7 separate regions of the Homo sapiens genome follow, and regions 2, 3, 4, 5, 6 and 7 are each linked to region 1. The links are contacts of gene promoters, found by promoter capture Hi-C in blood cells and fetal thymus (Javierre and others, 2016). All regions are on one chromosome and are shown on one strand. Each heading gives the region's core, a stretch centred on a gene start or on the middle of the fragment in contact. The rest is flanking DNA. Distances are from core to core; before and after follow the strand shown. Region 1 holds the start of ZC3H6 (zinc finger CCCH-type containing 6). Region 2 overlaps TTL (tubulin tyrosine ligase). Region 3 has its middle 3.2 kb from the start of TMEM87B. Region 4 overlaps TMEM87B (transmembrane protein 87B). Region 5 overlaps TMEM87B (transmembrane protein 87B). Region 6 has its middle 18 kb from the start of RGPD8. Region 7 has its middle 17 kb from the start of FBLN7.

Region 1 (4,081 bases), core at 1-2,500:
TCATTGCAATTGTTTTTGAATGCATTCCATTTATGTATTAGTAAAATGTATTATTAAGGAAAGACAAATTAAGTCAGATATTTGGATTAATCATTGAGTCTATCATTTTAGTAAAAAGCAAGGAACTTTCCTTCAGGACTAATATATTAAATAGGCCAAAACACTGACTTGTCATTTAAAAATTTTTTAAGGTCACTTCATAAGTATAAAAAACTCATGCATGGTCGGGCGCGGTGGCTCACGGCTGTAACCCCAGCACTTTGGGAGACCCAGGAGGGCGGATCACCTGAAGTCAGGAGTTCGAGACCAGCCTGGCCAAAATGGGGAAACCCCATCTCTACTAAAAATACAAAAATTAGCCAGGCGTGGTGGCGCGTGCCTGCAGTCCCAGCTACTCGGGAGGCTGAGGCAGGAAAATTGCTTGAACCCAGGAGGCAGAGGTTGCAGTGAGCCGAGAGCGCGACACTGCACTCCAGCCTGGGCGACAGAGGAGACTCCATCTCAGAAAAAAAAAAAAAAAAAAAAAAAAAAAAAAAAAAAAAAGGCATGCCTAATAGTATTTATAAAATACTCGCATACATTTTACATGTTAATATTATTACGAAATAAAGTAACGTTTATATAATTATTTCAATAGCTATTCCTATTTAAGTAATAATTGGGTAAATTTAACAGCAAATACAAGAAAAAACTGCATGGCAAGCTATTTTCCTTAAAACATGATTCTGAACACTAAACGTTACAAAAACAGATACTTGCTACAACTGTGAAGGAGAAACTGCATTTCCCTATTATTACAAGAACAAAGGTTTTCACAAAAAAATTTAAGGACTCTACAGCCGCCTTGTTCTTTGTTATCCCACCCCTGCCCGCCTCGGCTAACGGTTTTGGGGCCCGTTTGCTTGGTGCGTCTGGAACTCCTCGGGCGGCGGGCGTCTCGCAGGAAAAACCGCGGCCCGTACTGCGCCGGGAGCAGAAGCGCTGGTGGCCCTCGTAGGTCCCGTGGGCTGCCTCCCCCTCCTGCAGACACTCGAGGAGCCATCCGGCCGCGTCTCTCGCCGCCCGGCCCCGCCACTAGGCTGCCGCCTCCGCCGCTGCACAGAGAAGGGCGAAGACCCGCCCCTGCAGGTGATTGACGGGCACTCTCCTCCAATGGTCAACGCGCTCGGCCCCGGCGGGCTGGGCAAGGGCCGCGGCTCGCGGAGGAATCTCTCTTGCCCTTTAGTCCCGGGCAAGGTGTTGCGGCCGGCGCCATTTTCTCGAGCCGCCTGTTTCGGGTGCCGCCATGTTGGTGAGGAGAAATCACCGTTACGGCCACTGTCCAAATCCCCGCGTCGCTGCACGCCGCCCGCCCGCTCCCACGCCACAGCCACCGGCGGCGAATAGAGACTAGAGCGGCAGCGCCGGCAGCGCGGGGCCGTTGCCCAGTGTTTGCAGTTAGAGCCCCATCTCTCTGGCGTGGTTGTTAATAGACTGGAAAGTCTGTGTCTGTGTCGCTCACTAGTAACCGTGAGTTTTTACCACTTCGTCACCTGTCGGCGGCGGCCGGGAGCAGGTTCCCGCAGGCGGCGCGGGGGGTCTTCCCCGCGCCCCGCCGCCGCCGGCCTCGCAGACCTGCCCTCCAGCCCCGCCCCGTTCTTGACCAAACATGACAGACTCTGAACATGCAGGGCACGACAGGTCGGGAACCCTTCTTGTCTGTCTTTCTGTCGGATGAGAGGAGGGGTCTGGGGCGGCGGGAGCGGGCCGGGGCCGGGCGCCTCCTGCATGACCTAGACGTCTCTGTGTGGCTCCGTCAGTTCCATGACGCGCACTCTTATGTAAACTGCTGGATCGCGGCCGCGGGGGAGGTCGGCCCGGCCGCGCCCGCCTCCCCGAGCCGGGGTCGCTGCTCGCCAGCGCCGGCCCCGCCCCCGGCCGGGCACGTGCGAGCCCCCCGCCCCCCGGGCGGGCTCCGTGTGCGCCGGGCGGCTCTCAGCGTCCCGGCTCGGTGCTGAGGTCCTGCTTCTGCCCGTCCAGGTGTCGGTGCTCCCGGCCAGATAGGACCAGCCAGGAATTTTCAGGAATGGGTGTTTTGATATTTGACTGCTTCCCGAGAACCGAGAACACCTCTAAAAAAATAAACATTTGGTTTTCAGGGAAGTTTTAAGCAGCACCAAAAGGCCATCTGTTGTATACAGTCTTATCCCTTGGAATTTGAGATGGCAAGTTTCAAGTTTAATATGTTAACACAAAATACTTAGGCTTTGCAGAAACTTAGTTTAGCACAGTTTTACCCTAACGTAAAAACTCCATGGATTATTCCGGCTAGCCCAATTTTCTAGATGGTGTGTATCACTTGAATATTGAGATTCTGATTTTTTATTTTTTGCTCTGTGCCTTAAGAGGCACATTCTTGTTTCCATTCGAGTTTGGGGACATTTACAAAGTATACTGTAGCATACTTAAATTTTGGTTATAATTCAAATTTTCATTCGTATATATCTTTAATAATGCGAAAGGGGGGCTTTCATTCATTAAACTTACTGAAACAAAATCCATTGCATCTGATTCTTACTTAGAATATTAATTTGAAAATCTAGAACCTCACAATTACTCCTTTGTGAATAGAAGTAAGAAAAAATATACGTTTTACTATAGACTATATACATTGCTGAAGTTTTATCTGTAGTAATGTGATCGGCTTGGTAAAGCATCCTAAACACGTTTTTTAAAACCCAGAAGCAAAAATCACAAACACTGCTGAAATTTGAAATATCTAAATACCTAGCAATCTTGAGAGGGATAAAAATGGTATTTCAACAACTTCAGTATTGTAATAATAAAAGTAGATTCCCAGAGGGCACGTCAATCAAAGTGTAAAAATTTTTGGAAAGTAAAATGCACTTTTAAAAATGATAAGCTTGCACTTGGCACATTTTTAATGATTTTTTTAACGTTATCTTTTGTATTAAAAAGGAAATTCTTAGAATGGGTTGACTAATACCTTGCTCTTGAGGTATGGACAAACCAATGATGGGGTTTTGCTAATGGAGCCTAAAATCCTTTTTTTTTTTAATATGGAAGAATATCTGTTCCCCTCTCTTAGTGCACAAAGTAACTTCTATATATGGAGTTATGTATTGTACATCATGAAAAAACAATGCCATCAAATTCAAGTATCAAAATAATTTTGCTGGTAAGGAACTGTGATGACAGACCTTTTAAAGAATTTGAAATTTTAAAATACTGGTTTAGAGGTTAGAAAACTTTAAAGAATTATTTGTAAGATATGTTAATAGGTTGGTAGTAGGAGCTAAAGATTAAGATTAGTCTATTTTATTTAAAATTCGGACTAAAAGTATTTTCTAGTGATTTCTGAAACAAAAAGGTTAGCTCCACTTTAACTTAGCCAATTGTTAAGTGGCATCATTGTGCTGAGATGAAGGAGATGGTTTTTTTTTTTCATGCTTTTTTTGTCAACCCACATGAAAAACAAAACAACTACATCAAAAACAAAGTGAACTAGAAGTCAGGAGAAATTCTACAAGATCAGATCAATGGTTCTAAACCTTCCCTGGGGAACTTTTTTTCTTTAAAGTATTGGCGCTATTTCTGTTGGTCTGGACCTCAGCCTGGGTTTTAAGAGTTCTAAAAGCTCCCCAGGAAATTCTAATATGTGCCAAATTGAGAACCGCTATACTCGATCAGTGTTTCCCAATGATAGTTAATCATCAGAATCACTTTGGGGAATAAATTTTTGTTCTGCCCAGAGCAACTGAATCAGAATCTCTAGGGTATTTTTCATAGGCTCCCTGGGAAATTCTTAAGAAATTTGGGGAAAAAATGGACTAATCTGCGGGCTTCCAAAATACTGTATCTTTCCATATAATAGCTATTTTATGCTGTTATAAAAGTTTCTGTGAATTAAGTGGAGAAAAATATATGAAACTTGGTATATGGAGCTAGGCTTTGTCTCAAGGATTTTATTTTATTTATTTTATTTTTTTGAGACGGAGTCTCGCTCTGTCGCCCAGGCTGGAGTGCAGTGGCACTGTCTCAGCTCACTGCAAGCTCCACTTCCCGCCTTCACACCATTCTC
Region 2 (4,081 bases), core at 1,078-3,577, 240 kb after region 1:
AATATTTATACAAGTATAAATATAAATATACAAATAATATTAAGCAAAAAAATGCAAAAATACAAGCTATATAGAAGATGCATACAAATTTATTTCACTTACATAAGTTAAACAAGTAAAATTAAATAATGTTTTATTTAGCTGAATACACATGTATGGTAAAAATGTAAAGCAAAATGAAGAAGTGATAAACATACAATTCAAAATAGTGGTTATTCATATCCCTAGAAGGAAGGCAGAAGGGACACAGGGAAGAGGCTTAAAGATAGTGGATGGTGGGTACATGGGGAATAATTAATATTACATATATTTTAAACTCACAAGACAGCATTCCTATGATTATAGATAGTTAATATTCATTTAGAGTTCCCCACATTTTGACCATTTATGTTGTTTCTCTTCCTTTCCTGCATTTCCTTGCTTTTATCTAGGATTATTTTCCTTATTGTTAAGAAACTCATTTTTAGGCCAGGCGCGGCACCTCACACCTGTAATCCCAATACTTTGGGAGGCCGAGGTGGGCCGATCACTTGAGGTCAGGAGTTCAAGACCAGCCTGATACATGCTGAAACCCCATCTCTACCAAAATATGCAAAATTAGCTGGGCATGGTGGTGCACACCTGTGGTCGCAGCTACTCGGGAGGCTGAGGTGGGAGAATAGCTTGAACCTGGGGGGTGGAAGTTGCAGTGAGCCAAAATTGTGCTGCTGCACTCCAGCCTGGGTGACAGAGCAAGACTCTGTTTCAAAAAAAAAAAAACTAATTTTTAGTAGTTTTTAAGTAAAGTCTGCTGTGATAAATTAGTTATTATTTGTCTGAAAATATATTTTGTCTTTTTGTTTTTAAGGACATTTGCTCTGGACATAGATTTCTAGATAAGCAGTTAATTTCTTTTCCTACTCTGAAGGTTGCATACCATTGTATTCTGGCTTCCATCTTTTCTGCTGAGAAGTCAGGTGAAATCTTAGTATTGCTCTTAATGTATCTCTTCTCTATTTTTGAGATTCCTTTACATTGGTTTTTATAAATTTTACTATGAGATGTGTGTAGTTTTCTTTGTACATATTCCTGCATTTGGGTTCATAGTGCTTCTTGCACCGTGGCTTGATATCTTTTACCAGTTTTGGAATATTCATGGACATTATACTTTCAGTTGTGTCTTTTGATCCATTCTCCTCTTCTTCTAGGTCTCTAATTACATGATTGTTAATGCTTTTCACTGTTTCTCACACTTTTATGGCATTTTTGTATCATTTTATCTCCCCATGGTTGTACTCATTCTTTTCGTCTGACATCTTTGTTTGCTAATCCTTTCTTTATCTATTAAAACCTGTTAACAATTTTTACAAGGTAAAAGCTTTTAAAAGCTGCTGTTAAACTCACCTATTGAGTTCTTGATTTTAGTTAGCGTGCTTTTTAGTTCTGAAATTTATATTTGTTTCTTTTTTTCATATTATAGTTGTCTTATGAAATTCTCCCACTTGCCTCATATTTTCTTGAAGATAATGGCAATTCTTTAACATCCTTATCTGATAACTCCAAAATCTAGATTACCCATGGCAGAGTAATCCAGAGTATGCCCTGTGTATGGGCTGCATATGGCCTGTAGCTTGTTTTTGTAAGGTCTGTGGGCAAAGAATGTTTTTTATATATTAAAGATTGTAAAAATGAGAATATGCAACAGAGGTGGTACATATCCTGTAAAACCTAATATATTTACTGTCTGGCCCTTTATAGAAAAAGTTTGTCAGCTCCTGACTTTTAGGTCTGTTTCTATTGTCTCTTTTTTCTCTTGGTCTTATTTCTAAATATGCCTGGAAGTAGTATTTTAGCATTAGTGTTCACTTACTACAGTTTACTAAGTCTAGTAAAGATTTTTTAAATGAGGTGTAACATCCACAAAGTGTACAGTCTGGTGAGTTTTCAGTTATGCATGTACTCACCTAGCTGTGATATACATAAAAATATAAAACATTTACAGCATCCCAGAAGACTCCTTTGAACTCCCTCAAAACATGTATTCCCTGCCAGGCCAGGTGCGACGGCTCACGCCTGTAATCCCAGCACTTTGGGAGGCCGAGGCAGGCAGATCACGAGGTCAGGAGATTGAGATCATCCTGGCTAACACGGTGAAACCTCGTCTCTACTAAGAAATACAAAAATTAGCCAGGCGTGGTGGTGGGCACCTGTAGTCCCAGTTACTCAGGAGGCTGAGGAAGGAGATTCGCTTGAACCCCGGAGGTGGAGCTTGCAGTGACCCAAGATCACACCACTGCACTCCAGCCTGGGCGACACAGCGAGACTCCATCTCAGAATAAATAAATAAATAAATAAATAAATAAATAAATAAATAAATAAATAAATGCCCTGCCAAAGACAGCCACTTTTCTGACTTTTATCACCTTAGATTCATTTTGCTTGTTCTTAAACTTTATGTAAATGGAATTATACCATATTTCCTGTTTTATGTTCAGCTTTTCCCAGTGTTACATCTGTGGCATTCATCCATGTTATTGCACATAACAGTAGTTTATCCTTTTTATTACTGTGTAATATTCCATTGTATAAGTATTTCAGTTTATTCCTTCTGTAGTTGGTAGACATCTGGGTTTTATCTCTTATATTTTAGAACTATAATCTATCTGAAGTTGTTATATATCAAGTTTCATGTCTTTCCACAAGGATATCCCATTGACCCAGGGCCACTTGTCCTTTCCCCGCTGCATTGTGGTGTGTCTTTGTTACAAATCAGGTGGCTGGCTGGGCACAGTGGCTCACACCTGTAATCCTAGCACTTTGGGAGACCAAGGTGGGTGGATCACAAGGTCAGGAGTTCAAGACCAGCCTGGCCAATATGGTGAAACCCTGTCTCTACTAAAAATACAAAAATTAGCCAGGCATGGTGGCATATGCCTGTAATCCCAGCTACTTGGGAGGCTGAGGCAGGAGAATTGCTTGAACCCGGGAGGTGGAGGTTGCAGTGAGCCAAGATCGCATCACTGCACTCCAGCCTGAGCAACAGAGCAAGATTCCATCTCAGAAATCAATCAATCAATCAGGTGGCCATTTATGTGAGCGTCTGTTCTAGGATCTCCATTCTGTCCCATTGTTCTACCATCCACCATGTCAATGCTACCCTGTCACAATGACTGAGACTTTTTCCTTACTGTATTCTCACGTAGAGCCCAGTAGAATAATTACAGGGCTTGGAGTCCCATTTCTTCAGGGAATATAGGTGGTTGGAATTCTGACACCAGATAAATCAAATATGCTGGAAAAAGAATTCCTATTTTAGGCAAAAGCTTTATTGGAAGTTTGCGGCATCCTTTCCGCATTGTTCATTGCTGTTCAGAGTGTTGCTGCTGTGGTGCTATAAATGCTCCCAGCAGCTCTCAGGTTTTCTTTCCTTCCAGCTAGCCTCCCCCTAACTTCCCACTCCAGCCAAAAAAAGATGCACTGTATAAGTCTCTGATGAGGGATAAAAATCCTTTAAAGTGTATTATTAATCTTGAGCTTTCAGCAAAAAAAAAAAAAAAAAAAAAAATTAGTTTTGATTTGCTTCTGATTCTCAGGTTTTTCTTTATGTTGGAATGTAATACTTCTTTCAATTTTATTTTATCTTATTTTTTTGAGACAGAGTCTTGGTCTGTCACCCAGGCTGAAGTGCAGTGGCGCAATCTCATCTCATTTCAACCTCTGCCTCCCGGGTTTGAGCGATTCTCCTGCCTTAGCCTCCCGACTAGCTGGGATTACAGGCATGTGCCACCACTCAGTGCTAATTTTTTGTATGTTTAGTAGAGATGAGGTTTCACCATGTTGGCTAGGCTGGTTTTGAACTCCTGACCTCAAGTGATCTGCCTCCCTCAGCCTCCCAAAGTGCTGGGATTACGGGCATGAGCCACTGTGTCCAGCCCCCATTTTATATTTTAGTATTTTTTTCTCTCTCTCTTTTTTACCATAAGCATCTGTTAAACTTTTAAATCTTCCTTAATTATAATATTTTAAAGAATATTCTAATTAAAACAGGCTAAGTACGGTGGCTCATGCCTCTAATCCCAGCACTTTGGGAGGCTGAGGCAGG
Region 3 (4,081 bases), core at 173-2,672, 220 kb before region 1:
TACACTCTCTCATCTCCACACACGGGGAGAGACCCACTGACCCTGTGGGGCTGGTCCCTACAATTTATGTGATATATAAGTTGCACATGAAGAGGAAATATCAGAAAAACAACCTTTATGTTTACATATCCATAAGCCTCAACTCAAAACTAAAATCAGTTTTGATTTAGGGAAGAAAAAGTTAAATGAAGGCAAATGGAAGTATGTGGAAAAGGTGCTTTATATGATACTCTCAAAATTTCTCATACAATCCAATATTTTAATTAAAAGCAATGAATCAAATGTACAGCTTTTTATGCAAAAATAGCATCTATTCATTTTTGGTGTTAGCCATACCCCAAAGTCTCTCATTAATAGCACTGAATTCAGGATCTCATGATACTTCGTGTTCTCAAATGCCTTTTCATTTCCCTGCACAGCAACCTCTGAACTGTGATTCAGTTTTATAACAGCTGCAATAAACTCCACTAGAGGAAGGACTGGTCTATTGATGGGGGCCTTTCAGTTCTAGCTTACAGTCAACTATTGCCAAATTTTTCCTTATTTGTTCTTTGGACAATTTTTGTTTGCTCCAGGATTTAATTTTTCAAATTAAAAATTATATGGTAGCTGTTTTGTTTGTTTGTTTGTTTGTTTTTCTAAATCCCATAAGACTCAAAAGAGAATGAGTAAAGCACTCTGGCAATCAGTTGACTATCAATCTATTTTTACCAAGTAATCATAAATTTTCCATCTGCTGTGGAGGACACCAAGTTGGATCCCTATATGGGATGTGAGAGGTGTGAGATACTCCCTTCCTTCTTCCTTCCTCCTCCTCCTTCTTAGAAAGGCATATAAATTTTATTAACATATATACAGGGAGAACCACAGAGTGATTACCCCCTTCTTTCTTAGTTTTGGAAATTTTTCTTTTGAAATGATTTCAGACTCAAAGAAAAGTTGCAAGAAGAATACAAAGAACTCCTGCATACTCTTCATTCAAATTGGTTTTATTAGATTATCTTGATAGATAGATAGAGATGGTATACATGTTATACATATATAAAGCTTATATATATAATATATAAAAAGTTTTTTGTAACCACCAAAGAATAAGTTCAGATGTGGTGCCCGCTTACCTTTAAATACTTCAGTGTGCTTTTCTCTAGAAAGAGGACCTTCTCTTAGTGTGATAACGGTGCCATTTTCACATTCAGGAAATTCACATTGACAATACCATTTTCTTAAAGTCCTTGTTCAAATTTCACCAATTGTCTAAAGAATTTTAATAGCAAAAACAATTTTTCTGGTGTAGGCTCCAGACTGCTAGGCCTATATGTCACATTTAGTTATCATGTCTCTTGGGTCTCCTTTAACCTCTAACTTCCTCAGCTGTTTCAAGAACCTGGCATATATATATATATATATATATATATATATATATATATATATATTTTTTTTTTTTTTTTTTTTTTGGTAAATTATACCAGCTAGTTACTTTGTAGAATGTCTTTCAATTTGGGTTGTCTGATGTTTCCTTGTGATTAGATTTAAGTATGTGAATTTTTTCCTCATTTCCTTGAATAGCTTGATTAGATGCATTTTTGCATTTTGGGCATGCATTTTTGGCAGGAATATCACAGAAGTCATGCTGTTTCTTTTCAGTTAATCAAATCATGATACATATCATGTCTGTTTGTCCCAATCCTTGTGGGATTAACCTTGATCATTAAGTTGGTGTCTGCCAGGTATCTCCACTGTATAATTACTGTTTTTCTCTTTGTAATTAATAAGTAATTTTTGGAAGATATTTCCTCATGAAGCTTTTGCCAACTAACTTTAGAATAGAATTGATGATTCTTTCTGAATCAATTTTAATTGTGATAGTTGCCAAATGGTGATATTTTAAATTTGTTATTCCTTCTGCATTTATTAGTTTTCCAACTGTAAGAAAGTGATTTTCTTTCCTATTTATGTAATCATTTATTTATTTATGTTAGTATAGACTCATGGATTCCTATTTGAGTCAATGAGTTACAATCCACTACTATCATTTTGGTGACCAAATTGTCCCAGATCTGGTAAGTGGAAGGGAGCTCCTTCAAACTGGCTCCTATGCCTTTTTGACGTGTCCTCATAATTTTTTACCCACTTCCTTACTTTCTGGCAAAACAAGATTCTCAAGTTCATCATGAATTTCTCTATTCCATTCCTGGGCTCAGCCACTTCTCCAAGGATCCCTGGTTTATTTTAGTGGAGAATGATATTTATAAAGCAAGATCTGGTGCTAGATGTACCTATTGCTACTGGGGTGTCGCTGCTTCTAGGTCCTCCTGGGAATCAGTGCAAGAAAATATAAACACACACACACACACACATATCTACATCTATTTATAAAACTAAATTTTAAAAATGAGTTCACACTGATATCATCAGTTGCAAGCCAGCATTATAGTTCATTCTAACCTTCCTCATTTTCCTTTTTTTTTTTTCCTTTTCTTGCTTTCTTTCTCTTTCTTTCTTTTTTTTGTTTGTGACAGGTTCTGACTCTGTCACACAGGCTGGAGTGCAGGGCTCACTGCAACTTTCGCCTCCCAGGCCCAAGTGATCCTCCCGCCTCAGCTTCTTTGAGTAGCCAGAACCACAGGCACGCCACCACACCTGGCTAATTTTTGTATTTCGTGTAGAGACAGGATTTCGCCATGTTGTCCAGGCTGGTCTCAAACTCCTGAGCTCAAACTATCCACCCGCCTTGACCTCCCAAAGTGCTGGGATTACAGGCGTGCCCAGCCACTGTAAACATCTTACGACCATGGGTGGTGACTGGCAAGAAATGTACCTTGCTAGTTTTAAGATGGAGTTATTTTTAAAATGGTGTCACCCTGGCTCTCCTATGCTCCTGTTTCCCAATTTGACAACCAACACGATCTTTCTGATCAGCTCATCCTTACTTAAAAACCATCATTGGGGCCGGGCGCGGTGGCTCACGCCTGTAATCCCAGCACTTTGGGAGGCCGAGGCAGGCGGATCATGAGGTCAAGAGATCGAGACCATCCTGGCTAACACGGTGAAACCCAGTCTCTACTAAAAAATATAAAAAAATTAGCCTGGCGTGGTGGCTGGCGCCTGTAATCCCAGCTACTCAGGAGGCTGAGGCAGGAGAATGGCGTGAACCAGGAAAGCGGAGCTTGCAGTGAGCCGAGTTCGCGCCAGTGCACTCCAGCCTGGGCGACAGAGCGCGACTCAGTCTCAAAAACAAAACAAAACAAAAAATCATTGCCTCTCCAGTGTTCTTAACTAAAGGTGCCATCTGCCTAACTTAATTTAGGAATGCCTGTATGTTTTGGTACTGTTTAAATATTCCCAGCTTTGCCACTCTCCGTCTCACACCAACATCCAGTCATCTGGAAGATCTTTCCATTCCTCCAGTTCTCTCGTAACTAAAACGATTTCAGACTTACCCCTCACTCCCACAGGTAACTCGCCCTTAACTCTTCTTGTAGAACTTAAATTTCATGTATTGTTCTCTCCTTCTGTCCCTCACTTACTTCCTAAATCTCTGGTGGATGTTCCCCTGTGGTCCTGTTACAGTTATTCTGACCTAAACAGAACTGATCACGTTGCTTACTGGGAAGATGCACATGCAATCTCTAGTGTATAGTAGGTCCTCAATAATTACTGGTGACTGGTAAAGCAGCCAAGGCCTTTGGACTATAAATCGATCTTATTCTACGTTAATAACAATATTAGCACAGGATTCTATTCCCTTGCTGGATATTATTTACATTTGATAATGAATGAACTAATTCTCTTTGACAGCAAAACATGTATTCAGCTTACAGCCGAAAATGCAAGGGAAGGTACACAATAAGACGGATCCAAGCCCTGACCCCTCTGAGCTTTAAGCCAGTCAAGTAACTACTTGTTCTGAAAAGTATTAACTGTCCTATTAACGTTAACCTTCACAACACAATGCCTTGTGTTCAACTGGCCTTGGCCTCAAAGCACTTTCCTGGCACATTCCCTGAATTTAAAGAACGGTTTCCATACAGCTGAGAGGGTCGAGGCAGGGGTAAGTGTAGAAGACGCAAGAAATGGAGAC
Region 4 (4,081 bases), core at 1,143-3,642, 190 kb before region 1:
CCGTCCAATAGGAGAGGTGGGCAGGAGCTGATGTCCTTTCTGATTTTCCCAAGTGGGAATTCTGTGACAGGGGCTGTCTTGCCCAGCATTGATCTTGAAGCATCAAATTTAGAAAAATCATTAGAAGGATGAGAAGCATTGACTGTTAGGACCCGACGTGGGTATGTTAAGAATATCATGTCAGACTAATTTTTTTGTTTTGGGATGCTAGATTGACAGGAAGATGTAGTAAACTTAGTATAGCTGACTTCTTCAAGGCATTTGACAAGGTCTCTTGTGACTTCTTGTGGACAAGATGAGCTGAAAACTGGTGGTGCTGCCATATCTAAAGAGTTCATGGAGATAATCACTGGTCAGTCTAGACCGCTGCTGTTTTCTGTGGTAGCCACAAGCCACATCTGGGTACTTAAGTAAAATTAAATTAAATTAAAAATTAAGTTCCTCAGTTGTTCTAGCTTCATCTCAAGTGCTCAGTAGCCACAGGTGACCAGTGACTGCTGTATTGGACAGCACAGAGGTAGACCACTTCCATCATTGCAAAAGGGTCTGTGGGACAGCACTGGTCTGGAGCAATGGTTCTCATCCCTGGTTTTGCATCAGCATCACTTGAAGAACTTTAAAATGGTACCAGTGCCAGAGAGTCTGATTAGGGCAGACCTAGGAAGTGGGGCTGTGTAGAGGCTTCCAGGTGATTCCAATATGCATCTAGGGTTGAGAACCATTGAGCTAGGAGGCTTTGAATGGTGTCTCTCTCAGATTTTAGGCCTTGTTGCTGTTTTATTCTTCTTGTGAATCTGTTGGTTTGTTCAACTAACATTTATTGTGTGACTATGTAGACAGCATTCTCTTAAATTTTGTGGATGATGTGAGGCTGGCCAGGGTCGTAAATACTTAGGGGCATAGAGAATCATTTTAGATAGACCCTTTTCACTTGAAGATATGTGATGAGAGGCAAGAGAGTTGACATGCTGAATAGAAAGGTGAAATCTGATGATCTTGAACTTAGGTTTGGAGTACAAATTGCAAAAATACCAATGGAAAAGTTTTAAAAAGAATTTAAAAATTGAAGCTGATGAAAAGCAAACTCAACATAGGCAATAATAGGGTAGTTGCCTCCCACAAGCTCCCACAACCTCAGATTGCAGCAGGAGCCTGGAAGGAAAGTTGAGAATCTTGCTGTACAGGCCACACTGTACCAGAAACGTTGTAGTCACATTACCTCAAGAGGAGTATAGACAGCCCATGGAGGGATTGACAGCACACTCATCCCTCAACATTTGTGATGATAAACCCCTTCTTTACATTCTGCACTCTTTCGGAGAGCTCATCCATTGTTTTCCTCCTAAAGCTTTCTCTCCTGTGGAACTCTCTATCCTGAGCTACAGACATATATATCCAGTCACCTACAAAACAGCTTCTCAATGCCTTGCAATCTTCTCAACCTCTGAATGGCAAAAAGGGAGCTCATCCTTTCTGCCTTTGTGTGGCGGTCTCGCCCCAGCCCACACTTGCTGCCCTTCCAGGTGTTCCTCTCGCTGCATGATACTGCCAGGAGACCTCAGGACCATCTTTCACATCTTTCTTGGCTTCTTGCTCTGCCTGTAGTTCTAGATCTATCTTCGAGGCATTTGACAAGGTCTCTTGTGAGTTCTTGCAGGCAAGATGGAGCTGAAAACAGTGTGAACTGAAAACATCAGATGGATTCACAACTGGTTTTGCCACCATATTTTCTGAATATCTTTCTGAATCTTTCTGCTTCTCTCTGTGATCACTGCCGGTACTCTCATCATCTCTTAGTTTTCTGGAATAGTCTCCTGAGCATTTTCCTTGCCTGCAGTTTTGTTCCTCTCCAAACCATTGTAGGTAGAGCAATCTTGATAAAATAAAGCCATCCATTTTATTCCAGCAGTCAGCACATTTTTTCTGTCAAGGCCATAGAGGAAATATTTTGGCTTTGCAGGCCATATGGTCTCTGTTGTAACTATTCACCCTTGCCATCAAAGCATAAAAGCAGCCATAGACAACATGCAAACAAATGAGCATTGCTGTGTTCCCATAAAACTTTATGTTCAAAAACAGATCAGATGTAGGGCCAGATTTGGCCCATGGGCCATAGTTTACCAATCCCTCCTTTGTTCTTTTGTTTATTGTTATTGACTTCCCACTGCCCTTAACATCGAGTCCAGACTCCATGACAGGGGCTCCAAACTGCATGATTGGTCCCTGCCTTTATGACCAGCCTCTTTTCTTGACATCTACCATTACACTCTCTGCTGCAGGCATAATGAACTTTGACTTCTTGCAGCATAGTTTGCTTTTCCTCTTTTCTTCTCTGTGCCTTTGCACGTGCCGTGTTCTTTGCTTTGTCATCCCCCACCCCCAAATACTTAACTCCTACTTAGCCTTCAAGTCCTGATTTAGATGTCACTTTTTCTGAGTTTTTCAGGACCCAATTCTAGTTCCCCCAGGTGTAGATTAGACTGGCCTTCTTCCAAGTCTGGAGGGATGATGTGTTACCTCTTGCTCTTACCACACTGAGTTCTATTTACTTAGCCTAACCAGAGTACAAGCTCCATGAAGGCAGGGATCAAGATGTCTTTTTCACTATTATAGCCACACAGTAGGAGCATATCAGATACATTTTAAATGAATACATGATGAGGAGATCCTGGAGAAAAGAGAACTCTAGAGGATGTTGTGGTTTTTAAATATTTACAGGACAAGAAGAGAGAGTTCTGTAAAGAGCAAGAACAGAGGGAAGCTCAGGGAGACAGTGTTCGGGCTGATAGAAGAAAGCTGTGCCCAGTGGAGCAGATTAGATAGATAGGGAGTGAATTCTTGAGGCGAGTATGAATCCTTCACTGAAGTTTTCAAGCATCAGTTGGATTCAGTGACTTTTAAATCAAATGTGGCTGATTGGTCTGAAGTTCGAATGTAGTTATACACAGGACATGTTGTTGAGAATCTTGGTTGGCAGGCTTCCAGGTGTAGACAAAGTGAATTATTTTATTTTTTTCTTCCTCAGCCCAAGGCTTATTGATATTTGCGGAGTTGATTTCTGCGATTAAGAGGACGTTGGCTCGCCTTCTCGTGATCATTGTGAGCCTGGGCTATGGCATTGTGAAGTAAGTACTGGCGTGTGGGAAAAATGCTGGGTCCCAGCCCAGTGATTCAGTCCGTCTACATTATGACCTTTGTGAAAATGGAACTTCTAAGTATTGTAGTACAAATCCCTTTGGGAAAAATCTACAAGAACACATTTTTAAAAGATTTCCACATACTTGCTATTTTATGTTATCTTCCAATAAAGACCCTGAATTTTTATTTCAATAACTTTATATAGTTAGATGAATAAATAATCAACTTTAAGGATAATGGAAAATCTAAAATAATTCAAACCATTTTCAAACCCTTTTCTGTTATTTAGACAGTATCATTAAGCTTTTATGGTCCTATCTGAGTGTTGGAAGAGAGAGTGGATTAAACACCAAGTCAGCAAAACTTCTGACTGAAACCTGTCTGTCCCTCAAGGACTCTGCTTCTGGACCTTCTCCGGCGGGTCTTTTCCTCCTCTCACCTGTGAATCACTGGGCATAACTATGGGAGAACTTGATTTCTATCCTTGTTGTGTTTTTTCAGACCTTTCTTCCTGCTTCTTTCCTAAAACCCTGATTCCCAGAAGCTCACTCTTCAGGCTGGGTCACCTGCTGCATCTTGTTGTGGTCACTGTGAGCTTCCAGACCCTCCCTCATTCCTCAGCTCTGTGGGCACTGGCTTCACAGGTGTCGTCCTCAGCATTTCATCTGTCAGAAGGCCATGGGGTCTCAGGAGCCATGTGCATGACCCTTTAAGTAACCTGACCTCACCTCCCCACCTCTCCTGCTCTTGCCCATCACCATGTTTCAGCTACTGATTCCCAGTATCATTTTCTAGACTTTATTATATATATAACTGCACCCTCTTCAAAATCTCAATTTTAAGCAATCCACTTTTCAACTGTCAACCTCCTCTGTTTCCTGTTACTTTCTTTAACATGTCGGTGTCAGTCTTTTTCGACTATACTTTGGCCTCCAGCCTTTTG
Region 5 (4,081 bases), core at 612-3,111, 170 kb before region 1:
TGTAGTTTGAGCTTGTTACTCATTTCGTAAAATGTTGAAATAGTTACACTGTTTTTCATAAGAATGGTTTGATGTATATTGTGCTTAGCTGCTAAATAATGTTCATCTTGATGATTGCTAAGTTTCTTTGAGTTGCATCTTCTTGCTCTTTTTAAAGTATGCACACCTGTAATTTCTGATCATGCTGAAAGCATTTCTACTTAAAGTTTTAATGATATTTTCATTCTTTCTGTTATTTTCTACATAGCATTTTATCATTTTATTAATTTTATTGTAATCTAATTAAGCATCTGTTAAGGCAACATCAATAAGTAACTCAGATGTTGAGGGTAATTTTATCTTTGTTTCATTTTTTTGTCCTCTTACTTTTGCTTCTCTTAGTAACATTCTTTTTCACCTTCTGTTTTGGTTCTCTAATACATCGATGAAATAGAAAACAGGAAAACAAATAGAAAAAAATCATCAAATCTAAAAGTAATTACTTTGAAAAGCTTAGTGAAAAGTGGCTTAACCTCTAGCTACTCTAAACCAGAAATAAAGAAAAAACTACAGTGGACCCTTGAACAATGTAGGGTTAGGGGCACCAAACTCCTGAGCAGTTGAAAATCTACTTATAACTTTTGACTCTCCCAGAACTTAACTACTGATAGTCAACTGTTGACCAGAAGCCTTACTGTTAACATAGTTATCACATATTTTGTGTATTATATGTATTTTATACTGTATTCTTACAATAAAGTAGGTGGAGCAAAGAAAATGTTATTAGGTAGAAGGAAAGGGGAGGCAGCAAAGGCAGACATATGTGGTGTAACTTTTATTGAAAAAAACTTGCATGTAGGTGGACCTGAGCAGTTCAAACCCATATTATTCAAAAGTCAACTGTAGTACAGTAAGACAAACTTCTAATGTTGGAAATGATAGAGAGGACATTACTATGGTAAAAAAGGTAAATAAGGAAATATTATGAACAATTTTATGGTAACAAATTGGGCAATCTGGATGAGGCAGACAAGTTCATTGAAAAATACAAGTTCATTGAAAAATACATATAACAACCCAATTTTAATTCTAACCCTGTGCCACTAAGTCTGAATAGCTCTGATCTATTAGAAATTTAAAAAAAATTTTTTTAATTTAAAATCTTCCTATGAAGTACCAGGCCCAAATGATTCACTAGTGAGTCCTTTCAAATACTTAAGGAAGAAATGGAAGAAATATTCTAATTTTACACAAAATCTTTAGAAGGTAAAGGAGGTGGGAGTACTTAAAAGGCCAGTACAATTGAAATGCCAAAGTCTAACAGACGTTACAAGAAAAAATTATAGACCAAAAATTATAGACCACTTATAGACCAATATATCATTAATGAGTGGGCATACAAAAATTCTTTAAAAATATTAGCAAATAAAATCTAGCAAAATATAGAAAGACAATCATGATCAAGTGGACTTTATCCCAGGGTTGCAAGGCTGTTTTAACATTCCGAAAATCACTCAGTATAATTCATCATATTAAAATAGTACAAATAAGGCTGGGTGCGGTGGCTCATGCCTGTAATCCCAGCAGTTTGGGAGACTGAGGCAGGCAGATCACCTGAGGTCAGGAGTTCGAGACCAGCCTGGCCAACATGGCAAAACCCCCTCTTGACTAAAAATACAAAAATTAGCCGGGCGTGGTGGTGTGTGCCTGTAATCCCAGCTACTTAGGAGGCAGAGACGGGAGAATTGCATGAACCCAGGAGGCAGAGTTTGCAGTGAGCCAAGCCACTGCACGCCAGCCTGGACAACAGAACAAGACTCTGTCTCAAAAACATAAATAAATAAATAAAAATAAAAATAAAATAGTACAAATAAAAGAAGAAAGAAGAAAAAAATGACAAAAGTATCTCAGTGGGTACAAATAACAAAAGCCTCAGCAAACTAATTCTAAAATGGTATGAAAACACTCCACAGTTAAAATTCTATTTAATGGTGAAATAGTGAACACTTTCTTCTCAAGATTAGGGATAAAGTGCAAGGGTATGTACATACCACTTTGATTCTGCATTGTATGGGAGGTCCTACCTAGTGCAGAGAAGCAAAACAAAACTCCAAAGAATGTGAAAGAAAGAACATGTGGAAAGGAGGAAGTAAAACTGTGTTTATTCGCAGGCAACATGGTTATGTATGGAAAAATCCCAAGGAGTCTAAAGAAAAGAAAAAGTACGGTAGAACTAAGTGACTGTGACAGTCATAGGGTATATGTCCAATGTACAGAAGTCAGTTGTTTTTCTACATATTAACTGAAAACAATTGAAGGTGAAGTTTAAAATGTTATTTACCATACCTTCAAAAATAAAATACTTGGAATAAGTTTAATGAAAAATACGTAAAACCTCTGCAATGAAGACTATAAAACAATGCAGAGATAAATTTTAGAATAAGTAAATGTAGAGATAGAACCTGTGTCTGAATTGGAACTCTCAGTATTAAGCTCTCAGTTTCCCAGTCTGATAAATAGATTCAGTGCAATCCCAATTATAATTCTAGCTGACTTAAAAAAAAATACAGTGGTTAAGTTGATTCTAAAATGTATATGGAAAAGCAAAAGACGTAGAAGATCCTTAACATTCTTGTAGTTACAACATGGATGAACCTTGAAAACATTATGTTAAGTGAAAGAAGCCAATCACAAAAGACCACATACTGTATAATTTTGTTTATATGAAAGGTCCAGAACAGACAAGTCCGTAGAGGCGGAAAGTAGATCAGTGCTTGTCACAGGTTAGAGGAGGGGGAAAGTAAGGACTGACTGCTAATGGGTTTGGGGTTTCTTTGTGGGGTGATGAAAATTTTCCAAAATTGGAGAGTGGTGAATATCTCAAATCTCTGTGAATATCTCAAAATCTAACTGTACTTCAATATGGTATGCGAATTATCTCTCAATAAAATAAAATTAGTGGATTTATACTGATTTCAAGACATAATTATTTCAGATTACAGCAATCCAGACAGTGTGGTATTGGCATAAGGATAGAGAAATCCATCAAGGTAGTAAAATAGAGTCCAGGAATAAACCCATGCATGTGTGGTCAGTTGATTTTTGACAAAGGCACCAAGGCTTACATGAAGAGAGGATAGTCTTTTTAATAAATGGTACTGGAACAACTGGATAAATGTGTAGGAAAAAAAATCATTAGACTTTTGTTGCACATCTCACAATCAATTCAAGATGGATCACAGACCTAATGGAAAAGCTTCAACTGTTATTCTTCTAGAAGAAAAAAGGAAAATATTTTAATGACGTTGGATGGGGTAATTTCTTAGGACATGAAAAACAGTAACCATTAAATTAAAAAATGAGACTTTATCAAAATTTAAAATCTATGCTCATCAGGAAGAATTTAAGAAAATAAGAAGGCTAGCTACAGTGGGAGATAAAATATTCTCAGTACATATATATCTGACAAAGGGCTTATATCCAGAATATAAGTAGAATTCCTGTAAATCAATAAATGATAACCTATGTTGCAAAAAATGAGCAGAAGACTAGTGTAGACACTTCAAAGAAGACATAGGAATGGCCAATAAACCCGTTAAAAGGTGCTCAATATAATCAGTCATCAGGGAAATGCAAATTAAGACCATAATGAGCTGCCACCACACATCTGCTAGAATGGTTAAAATTAAAAAGTCTGATAGATAGCATGAACTATTGGAGAGGATGTGGAACAGCTGGCTCTCTCATACAGTACTTGAAGGAATGTAGAATAGCATGACCGCTTTAGAAAGCAATGTGACAGCTTCTTACAAAGTTAAGCATATACCTACCATACAGTTCAACTGTTCCACTCTAAGGTTTACCCAGAAAAATGAAGCAGATGTCTACAGAAACACAAGAATGTTTACAGCAGCTTTATTCTTAATAGTCCAAAACTGGAAGTAACACAATTATCTACAAACAGGTGAAAAGATAAATAAATTGCCATATATCCATACAATGGAATACTTTTCAGTAATAAAAAGTAACCAACACTCTATAACATAACTTAATCTCAAAAATGTTTATCTTGCATGAAAGTGTTGCATGATTTAGATGATTA
Region 6 (4,081 bases), core at 588-3,087, 180 kb after region 1:
TTGGAGTGGAAAAGGCAGACCCAGTACAACATAAAAAGGAATTGTTGGACCTCCAAAATTCTAGCAGGAAGCAGGCTGAGAAAACAGATGCTACCTTTTCTTTAAAAAAAAAAAAAAAAAGTCCGGGCACAGTGGCTCACACCTGTAATCCCAGCACTTTGGGAGGCTGAAGAGGGCAGATCGCTTGAGGTCAAGAGCTCAAGACCAGCCTGGCCAACATGGTGAAACCCCGTCTCTACTAAAAATACAAAAATCACCCAGGCATGGTGGTGGGAGCCTGTAGTCCCAGCTACTCGGGATGCTGAGGCAGGAGAATCACTCGAACCCGGGAGGTGGAGGTTGCAGTGAGCCCGAGATTGCGCCACTACACTCCAGCCTGGGTGACAGAGTGAGACTGTGTCTCCAAAAAAAAAGGATGATTCAGAGGGCAAAAATAAGGAGTCCAGAGGATGGAGCCAAGAGCCATGGAGAATTATTTTTAGCAGGAATGAGACTGAGTTCTAAAATTTGGATTTCAGAATTGCTATGGACCAGTAACACCTGTGTGCCTCCTATTTGCCCCTTTTTTGTGTGTAGAGATTATCTTGTGCCTGTCCCACCATCGTATATTGGGTGATATGGTTTGGCTATTTTCCCAAGCAAATCTTGTCTTGAATTGTAGCTCCCGTAATACCTATATGTTGTGAGAGGGACCCAGTGGGAGATAATTGAATCATGGGGGCAATTTCCCCTATGCTGTTCTGGTGGTAGTGAATAAGTCACATGAGATCTGACGGTTTTATAACGGGTTTCCCCTTTCACTTGGCTCTCATTCTCTCTTTGTCTGTCACCATTTAAGACGTGGATTTACTCCCCCCGCTTGCCTTCCACCATGATTGTAAGGCCTCCCCAGCCCTGTGGAACTGTGAGTCAATTAAACGTCTTTCCTTTGTAAATTACCCAGTCTCAGGTATGTCTTTATTAGCAGCATGAGAACAGACTAATACATTGGGTGTGGGAGGTGGGCAGGTATCTCGTCTCTTTAGCTTCAGAAATCCACAGATCAATTGGAACTGTGCTTAAGGAGCTGTACTTGGGGAACTACACCTGATGTATCTCAACCATACCTGGACCTGATTTAGATGATGGGATTCTGGACTTAGAGCTGATGTTATGAGGTGAGGCTCTGGGGACTCTTGGAGAGTTGTAGATGTATTTGCCATGAGGGAGGGATGTGAATCACTGGGGACCAGAGAGCAGACTATGGTAGGCAGCTTCCTAGGATGGTCTCCAGTGATCTCCACTTCCTGGTATTCAACCTCTTGTGTAATCCCCTCCCCTTAAGTGTGGCCTGGACCTGTTGCTTGCTTTTCATGAATAGAATATGGAAAAAGTGATGGAATATTATTACTGGAAAGGGGTCCCGATCCAGACCCCAAGAGAAGGTTCTTGGATCTCACACAAAAAAAGAGTTCAAAGTGAATTCATAGAGTAAAGTGACAGCAAGCTTATTAAGAAAGTAAAGGAATAAAAGAATGGCTACTCCATAGGCAGAGCAGTGGTGTGGGCTGCTCGACTAAGAACACTTACGGTTCTTTCTTGATTATATGCTAAACAAGGGGTGGATTATTCATGAGTTTTCCAGGAAAGGGGAGGACAATTCCCAGAACTGAGGTTTCCTCCCCTTTTTAGACCATGCAGGGTAACTTCCAGACATTGCTAAGGCATTTGTAAACTGTCATGGCACTGATGGGAATGTCTTCTAGCATGCTAACGCATTATAATTCGTGGATAACGAGCAGTGAGAATGACCAGAGGTCACTTTCATTGCCATCTTGGGTTTGGTAGGTTTTGGCTGGCTTCTTTACTGCAAACTGTTTTATCAGCAAGGTCTTTGTACTTTGTGCTGATCTCCTATGTCATCCTATGACTAAGAATGCCTAACCTCCTGGGAATGCACCCCAATAGGTCTCAGCCTAATTTTACCCAGCCCCTATTCAATATGGAGTCGCTCTGGTTCAAACACCTCTGACAATATTACTTCAAAGATTAAGTTACAAAAGACTGTGGCTTTTTTCTTGCTTACCATCTCTTACCCTCTTTCTTGCTCACTGTAGTGAGGCCAGCAGGCATGTTGTAAACTGCCCAATGGAAAAGCCTATGTAGTAAGGAACCAAGAGAGGCTTCCAGCCAACAGCTTTTGAGGAATTGAAGCTTTAGTCTAATAACCCATGTAGAAACTGGCCAACAACCATGTGAGAGTGCTTGGAAGCTGATCTATCCCTAATCAAGCCTGAAGGTAACTGCAGCCCTGCTGACACCTTGACTGCAACCAGAGCCCAAGGATCCAGCTACGTTATGTCCAGATTCCTGACTCAAAGAATCTATGAGCTAATAAACGTAGGGGTTTTAAGCCACTAAGCTCTGGAGCAATTCGTTATGCAGCAACAGAGTGTGTAATAATTACCCTCAAACATAGCAGCTTAAAATAACAAGCATTTATTACCTCAGTTTCTGAGGATCAGGAATCCACCTGCAGCTTAGCTGGGTGGTTCTGGCTCAGAGTGTCTCACGAGGGTGTAGTCAAGCTATCCGCCTGAGCTGCAACATCTCAAGGCCTGACTGAGGCTGGAGAATCCACTTCCAAGCTCACTGTATGGTTGTTGGGAGGCCAGACACTCAGTTCTTTCCATATAGGTTTCTCCACAGGGCTACCTCACAACATAGCAACTGGCTTCCCCCAGAGCAAGTGGTCAGAGAGAGATCTCAAGACTGGCTGTCGTCTTTTTGTAATCTATTCTCAGACGTGACATGCTATCACTCTTGCCTATGATGTTGGACACACAGATTAAACTTAGTGTAACATGGGAGGGGACTACACAAGATTGTAAATACTAGGTGTCAGGGATTATTGGGGGCCATCTTGAAGGCTCATTACCAACTTCCTGTGTCCATTTCTCTTCTTCCCATTAGTTTTATCTAAGAATAGGCCAACCTGTCAGAGATTACGTTCTCTGGACTCCTTTTTAGCTAGATTGGTAGTGTGACTACATTCTGACTAAAGGCACACATATGGAATAAAGTCATGTGACTTTGGGGTTATGCCCTTAAAAAGGATTTTGTTTCTCTCCCCCATTTTTCTCTCATACCATGGGCTGGAACATAGGTATAGTGAGACTATGCAGGTAACACCCTAAGGGATGGCTACGAAAACAAAAAAGAATTTGGCTCCTTGAATTAACTCATAGGTTGCAGCAGCCTACATCACTTGGACATCCTGCCAGCTTTGGATTTTCAGAGAAATAAACCTATCTTATGTAAGTTCCTATACTTAATCATTTTTAGGTAGTTGAATCTCCTAAAAAAAACACTACAATCAGCCCACTATTGAACTGACCCAAGGATATTCAGACTACAGAATCCAGAGATAAATCAAGCACATTTCAGAATTTAATGTAAGACAATGGCACAGTATTTCAATTTAATGAGAAAATGATAGCTTATTAAATAAATTATCATGTTGATATTACCAGACAAGTTTACATAAACAAGAGACATCTTTCTGACTGTGATTCCAACCTTGCTGTCTAGTACAGTAATGATGCTCACCTTCCTCCTGACATTTAGGAGCTGTCATATGGCCCTTACTGTGCTGGGATCCTATGCTCCCCATTGCTAACAGGAAGTCCAGTTCTGTAACAGCATCCCCACCATTCTTCTTGACCTTCAGAAGACATTTGCTACCGTGCCTCTCATTGATGCTGCTGCCCTCCCACCAGTGCCTTCTTAGCTCTGATAAATGGAGTGTCTTTTTGAACTCTTTGTCCATAGTTCTGGCATCTCTGCTTCATTTAATGTGGGCCATTGATTTTTCCAAGCTTCTGAAGCTTTGCAGCGGTATATTAGAGCTTTCTTGTGGGGCTCATTGCAGGTGTTAAATCTTGTGTTATGTAAAAGATGCCCCCACCTTGAGAAGGCTTCTGTATTGGAGTTCTCCAGAGGGGGAGAACAAATAGGATGTATAGGATATACGGATATATCCTATATATATCCTATACATCCTATCAAATAGGATGTATAGGATATATAGATACATAGATAT
Region 7 (4,081 bases), core at 1,078-3,577, 150 kb before region 1:
GTATTTATTGGTGCTAGATTATATAAATCTGTAGGACATATAGACATATATAGACTCCAATAGATGGCAGGACATAAAATTCTTAAAACAGGAGGCACAGCTAATCAAACATGGAAAAGTGCTCAACCTCAGTAGTAGTAAAGAAATGCAAAACAAAAGATAGGGGATAGTTTAAAAAATCAAATTAACATAAGTTTGTACTATGGTATATTTGTAAAATCCTTTTGCTTTCAAAGTCTGATGAAATGAGCACACTTATTAATGATGGTAATATAGTTGATTTCCTTTTTTGTGAAAAGTTCAACAATGTGTTTATAACCTTTGAATAATGTCAATTCTGGTGATATTTTAAAAAATGATTCAAAATACAGAATAAAGTTTCTCCACAAAAGTGTTTATTATAATATTAAAGTAGAAATAAAATTAGAGACAAACAATATCATAGTTAAGTGAATTATGGTTTAACCAGCTACTTTATGAGATATTGTATAGCCATTAAATTATGAAGAATTTATAATAAAAATACTTATAAGAACTGTGATGCAGTGGCACATATGTGAATGCTTATCTATGTAAAAATAAGGTAGAGCAACTTACTCTCATGGTTCAGAAAAAATGCATTCTATCTTCCAACTTTTCTGTAAAGTTACAGAATTAAGTAATTACATAATTCTTAATTACATAAATAATTACATAATTAATTATTATTTTGAAATAAAGATAATTTAAAAAAAAAAAGGCCGGGCGTAGTGGCTCACGCCTGTAATCCCAGCACTTTGGGAGGCCAAGGTGGGTGGATCACAAGGTCAGGAGATCGAGACCATCCTGGCCAACATGGTGAAACCCTGTCTCTACTAAAAAAAAAATACAAAAAATTAGCCGGGCGTGGTGGCGGGCGCCTGTAGTCCCAGCTACTCGGGAGGCTGAGGCAGGAGAATGGCGTGAACCCGGGAGGCAGAGCTTGCAGTGAGCTGAGATTGGGCCACTGCACTCCAGCCTGGGCGACAGAGCGAGACTCCGTCTCAAAAAAAAAAAAAAAAAAAAAGTAGAGAAAGGATTGAGTGGAAAAGCACTGGGGTGGCATACATGGTTAGTGTTGAGGCTCAGCCAGGCTGTGGTCACAACTTGATTTTAGCCTTTCAGAAACTTAAGACAAAAAGTTTATTTCTTGCTCATGTGACAATTCTTCAGTAGGTATAGAGGTGGGAAGGGCCACCCTCCTCCACATGTCCCTCAGACACCCGGGGTTTATTTCCATCTTGCGGACCCACCATACCCTAGGGCCTAATTTTTACCCCTAATTTTCTAAGAAACATATTCAACATAAATATGTAAAAATAATAGTGCCTTGGCCAGGCGCAGTGGCTCACACCTGTAATCCCAGCACTTTGGGAGGCCGAGATGGGTGGGTCACGAGGTCAGGAGATCGATACCATTCTGGCTAACACAGTGAAACCGCATCTCTACTAAAGATAGAAAAAAATTAGCTGGGCATGGTGGCAGGCACCTGTAGTCCCAGCTACTCGGGAGGCTAAGGCAGGAGAATGGCGTGAATCTGGGAGGCGGAGCTTGCAGTGAGCCGAGATTGTGCCACTGCACTCCAGCCTGGGCGACAGAGCGAGACTCTCAATAATAATAATAATAATAATAATAATAATAATAATAATAGTGCCTTAGACTATGTATCAGAAAATCTAGAAAAGTGTGTCTTGGTTCACAGCTTAATCTTAATTAATTTAAAAAATCCATCTTGCTGTAAGTAGATGGGACATGGAGAATTTTCTTCATGGACATTCTCCCACCTTTGACATGTGAGGAGTGAGAGGGACAAGATGGATAGTCCCAGAGGGAAAGGAAGGGCTGTTGTCATAAGACTGATGACCATTTTGGCAGACTTGGGAGCACTTGCAGAGTGCCAGGCTTTGGTAACCACTGTATTCTCACAGTAGCCAATGAAGTATTAGTTCCCTTGGTTCATAGATTAGAAAACTGAGAGAGAGGTTAAATAATTTGATAGTTTACCATCCTGGCAGGTGGCAAGGCTGGTATAATACTGGTGGGAATCATCCTAGAAGGGTTGTCCTCGAAGTCCTGAGGAGAGAGGAGTTTCGGTTAACAAAGTGCTGTTTGCTTGTTAGAGAAGGTTAAGTAAGACAATGTATCTAAAGTGCCTGGTGCATAGCCTTCAGGAGGCAGCTAAGGTTAATGTGAAAGGTACAGCAATGATTGAGGGGTGACTGAGACTCAATTGAAACAAATGGCATATGAAATTCAAACACATTCCAGGATTGATTCACTTGTATTAAGATGAAGTTACCCAGAGCAAGTTTTATGCCCCTTAAGTGATAGGGAATGTACAGCTACATTAACAGAGGTGACCTGATATTTACATCTGGTCAGAGGCTGACCTGATTTATATCTGATTTCAGATGTAAATAATTTTGACAGTATTTCCTTAAAATCATTTTGAAAAAACAAGAAGCTGCAATGGAAGTTTATGCACAGGAAAAAATGTGAAAGCTATCCAGCAGGTGGTGCCAAAGTAATGTCTCTTGAAGAGTTCTAATCTTTTTTTCTTTTCTCTAATTCTTCCCTTTACAGATTTTATAAATTTACTTACCAAATGCCACTAAACAAATTTGGGGATGAAGAAAAAAACTTAAAAATAATTCACACAGCACTGCCCTGGAAAAACAGTTATTTTGGTATATTTTAAAACTTTAAAGCTGGAAAGAGCCTCTAAGATCATCTTACAAATGAGGAAATGGAGGACCAGGAAAGTGTCACTGGCTACAGTTCCCTCAGACCAGGGTTGAAGACTGCCTCCTAGTTTGTTTTTCTCACCTCTGGTCCTTATTGTCAGGGGGAAAGAGATGCCACAGAAGGGTTGGACTGGGCATCAAAACTTGAAATACATTTTATATACTTTGGTGACCACTTGCTACGTCATTTCATATGACTTCATTGTCTTTTCAGCTTCCAAATTCTTGTTTCTACATGGTCATAATTCCAGTTCTCTGTTTCTTCATTTGATAAGTGGAGATTTTCTTGGGGTTCAGTGGAGTCTGCTGGAAAGGCTTGTCTTTATTTGACCTGAGTCACAGCTTTCCCAGTGCTAAATGCCTCTTTCCAGGGGATACTTATTAAAAATATTCACAGGCATGTTTTTTAATGTCACAGCTGCCTAAAGCAAAAAATAACATTCAAAGCAAACAACAGACTGACCAAAAACCTTAAAAGGAAAGTCTAAAGAATGAGATGACCATAAGGCCTTTGAAAAACCTTCAACATACTTACAGGAATCTAAAAGGTCACATGCATGCATAGGGCTCTGCATGCTCAGCAAAGACCACAAACAAGAAGTGAAGGCTAAGGCAGAGTTAGTTGTAAACTGCCTGAATGAGTGCTGAAGGTGTGCCCCACCATACACACAAGCACCTCGGCAAAGACTGGGAGATTTACTGGTTCCGAGAGGTTAAGAAAGTCTCTGTCCAATAATTGTCTAACCATTACATAACTGAGTAGAGACTTCAGTGACCACATATCACAAAATATACAGACTTTACGGAATTAGTTTAGAGAACTCACTAAACAACTACTACAACAAGTAGTAACAACAGCAAACCATTGAAGGGGAAGGAACTGGTTTTCAGAGTTACCACATTATATTATTTAAAATGTCTAGTATTTACCAAAAAATTATGACATAAGCAAAGAAATGACAGTGTATCTCTCACAAGAAAAAAAAGAGCATCAAAACAAAATGTTCCTGAGAAAGACCAGATGTTTGACTTACTAGACAAAAACTGTAAGCTGTTTTGTAAGTATTCAATGAGCTAAAAAAGTATAAATGCAAAAGTATGAGAATGATGTTTGACCAAATAATGTCAATAGAGATAGCAATGATAAAAATGAACCAAATGAAAATTCTTATATTGAAAAGTACAATAACTGAGACAAAACATTTATTAGAGGGTGCTCAAGAGCAGATCTGAGCAGGTAGAAGAAAATCAGTGAATCTGAATATAGGTCAATTGAGATTATTCAGTGTGAGGAACAAAAAGAAGATAGAATGAAGAAA

Evidence for each region. Contacts are between HindIII fragments. The CHiCAGO score rates a contact against its expected background, and 5 or more counts as called.
Region 2: a fragment that was not itself captured here is called in contact with the fragment with the promoter of ZC3H6 in region 1 in 1 of 17 cell types (erythroblasts); the score reaches 5.8 in erythroblasts.
Region 3: a contact is called between a fragment that was not itself captured here and the fragment with the promoter of ZC3H6 in region 1, in 3 of 17 cell types (total B cells, fetal thymus and megakaryocytes). The highest score is 6.4, in total B cells.
Region 4: a contact is called between a fragment that was not itself captured here and the fragment with the promoter of ZC3H6 in region 1, in 3 of 17 cell types (total B cells, activated CD4 T cells and naive CD4 T cells). The highest score is 5.6, in total B cells.
Region 5: a fragment that was not itself captured here is called in contact with the fragment with the promoter of ZC3H6 in region 1 in 3 of 17 cell types (activated CD4 T cells, non-activated CD4 T cells and total CD4 T cells); the score reaches 7.6 in activated CD4 T cells.
Region 6: a fragment that was not itself captured here is called in contact with the fragment with the promoter of ZC3H6 in region 1 in 4 of 17 cell types (total CD4 T cells, non-activated CD4 T cells, naive CD8 T cells and 1 more); the score reaches 6.9 in total CD4 T cells.
Region 7: a fragment that was not itself captured here is called in contact with the fragment with the promoter of ZC3H6 in region 1 in 7 of 17 cell types (activated CD4 T cells, naive CD4 T cells, total CD4 T cells and 4 more); the score reaches 12.6 in activated CD4 T cells.

What each region holds. Positions count from the first base shown.
Region 1 is chr2:112,274,347-112,278,427 of GRCh38, forward strand. ZC3H6 (zinc finger CCCH-type containing 6) reads left to right here and starts at 1,251. Exons shown (of 12, transcript NM_198581.3): 1 at 1,251-1,680. The coding sequence starts at 1,649. RefSeq lists enhancers at 953-1,525, 1,141-1,350 and a silencer at 1,541-2,020. The HindIII fragment of the contact is 12,828 bases long and covers 1-2,900 here.
Region 2 is chr2:112,513,636-112,517,716 of GRCh38, forward strand. The region is part of intron 5 of TTL (tubulin tyrosine ligase); the gene reads left to right. Among named protein-coding and RNA genes, the nearest start is that of POLR1B, 27 kb to the right of the region's middle. The HindIII fragment of the contact is 1,945 bases long and covers 1,356-3,300 here.
Region 3 is chr2:112,050,077-112,054,157 of GRCh38, forward strand. No RefSeq gene overlaps it. Among named protein-coding and RNA genes, the nearest start is that of TMEM87B, 3.2 kb to the right of the region's middle. The HindIII fragment of the contact is 755 bases long and covers 1,046-1,800 here.
Region 4 is chr2:112,082,980-112,087,060 of GRCh38, forward strand. TMEM87B (transmembrane protein 87B) reads left to right here. Exons shown (of 19, transcript NM_032824.3): 9 at 3,026-3,125. Among named protein-coding and RNA genes, the nearest start is that of TMEM87B, 30 kb to the left of the region's middle. The HindIII fragment of the contact is 2,093 bases long and covers 1,347-3,439 here.
Region 5 is chr2:112,100,883-112,104,963 of GRCh38, forward strand. All of the region lies in intron 15 of TMEM87B (transmembrane protein 87B), which reads left to right. Among named protein-coding and RNA genes, the nearest start is that of FBLN7, 35 kb to the right of the region's middle. The HindIII fragment of the contact is 2,744 bases long and covers 490-3,233 here.
Region 6 is chr2:112,449,525-112,453,605 of GRCh38, forward strand. No RefSeq gene overlaps it. Among named protein-coding and RNA genes, the nearest start is that of RGPD8, 18 kb to the left of the region's middle. The HindIII fragment of the contact is 707 bases long and covers 1,485-2,191 here.
Region 7 is chr2:112,119,331-112,123,411 of GRCh38, forward strand. No RefSeq gene overlaps it. Among named protein-coding and RNA genes, the nearest start is that of FBLN7, 17 kb to the right of the region's middle. The HindIII fragment of the contact is 9,145 bases long and covers 1-4,081 here.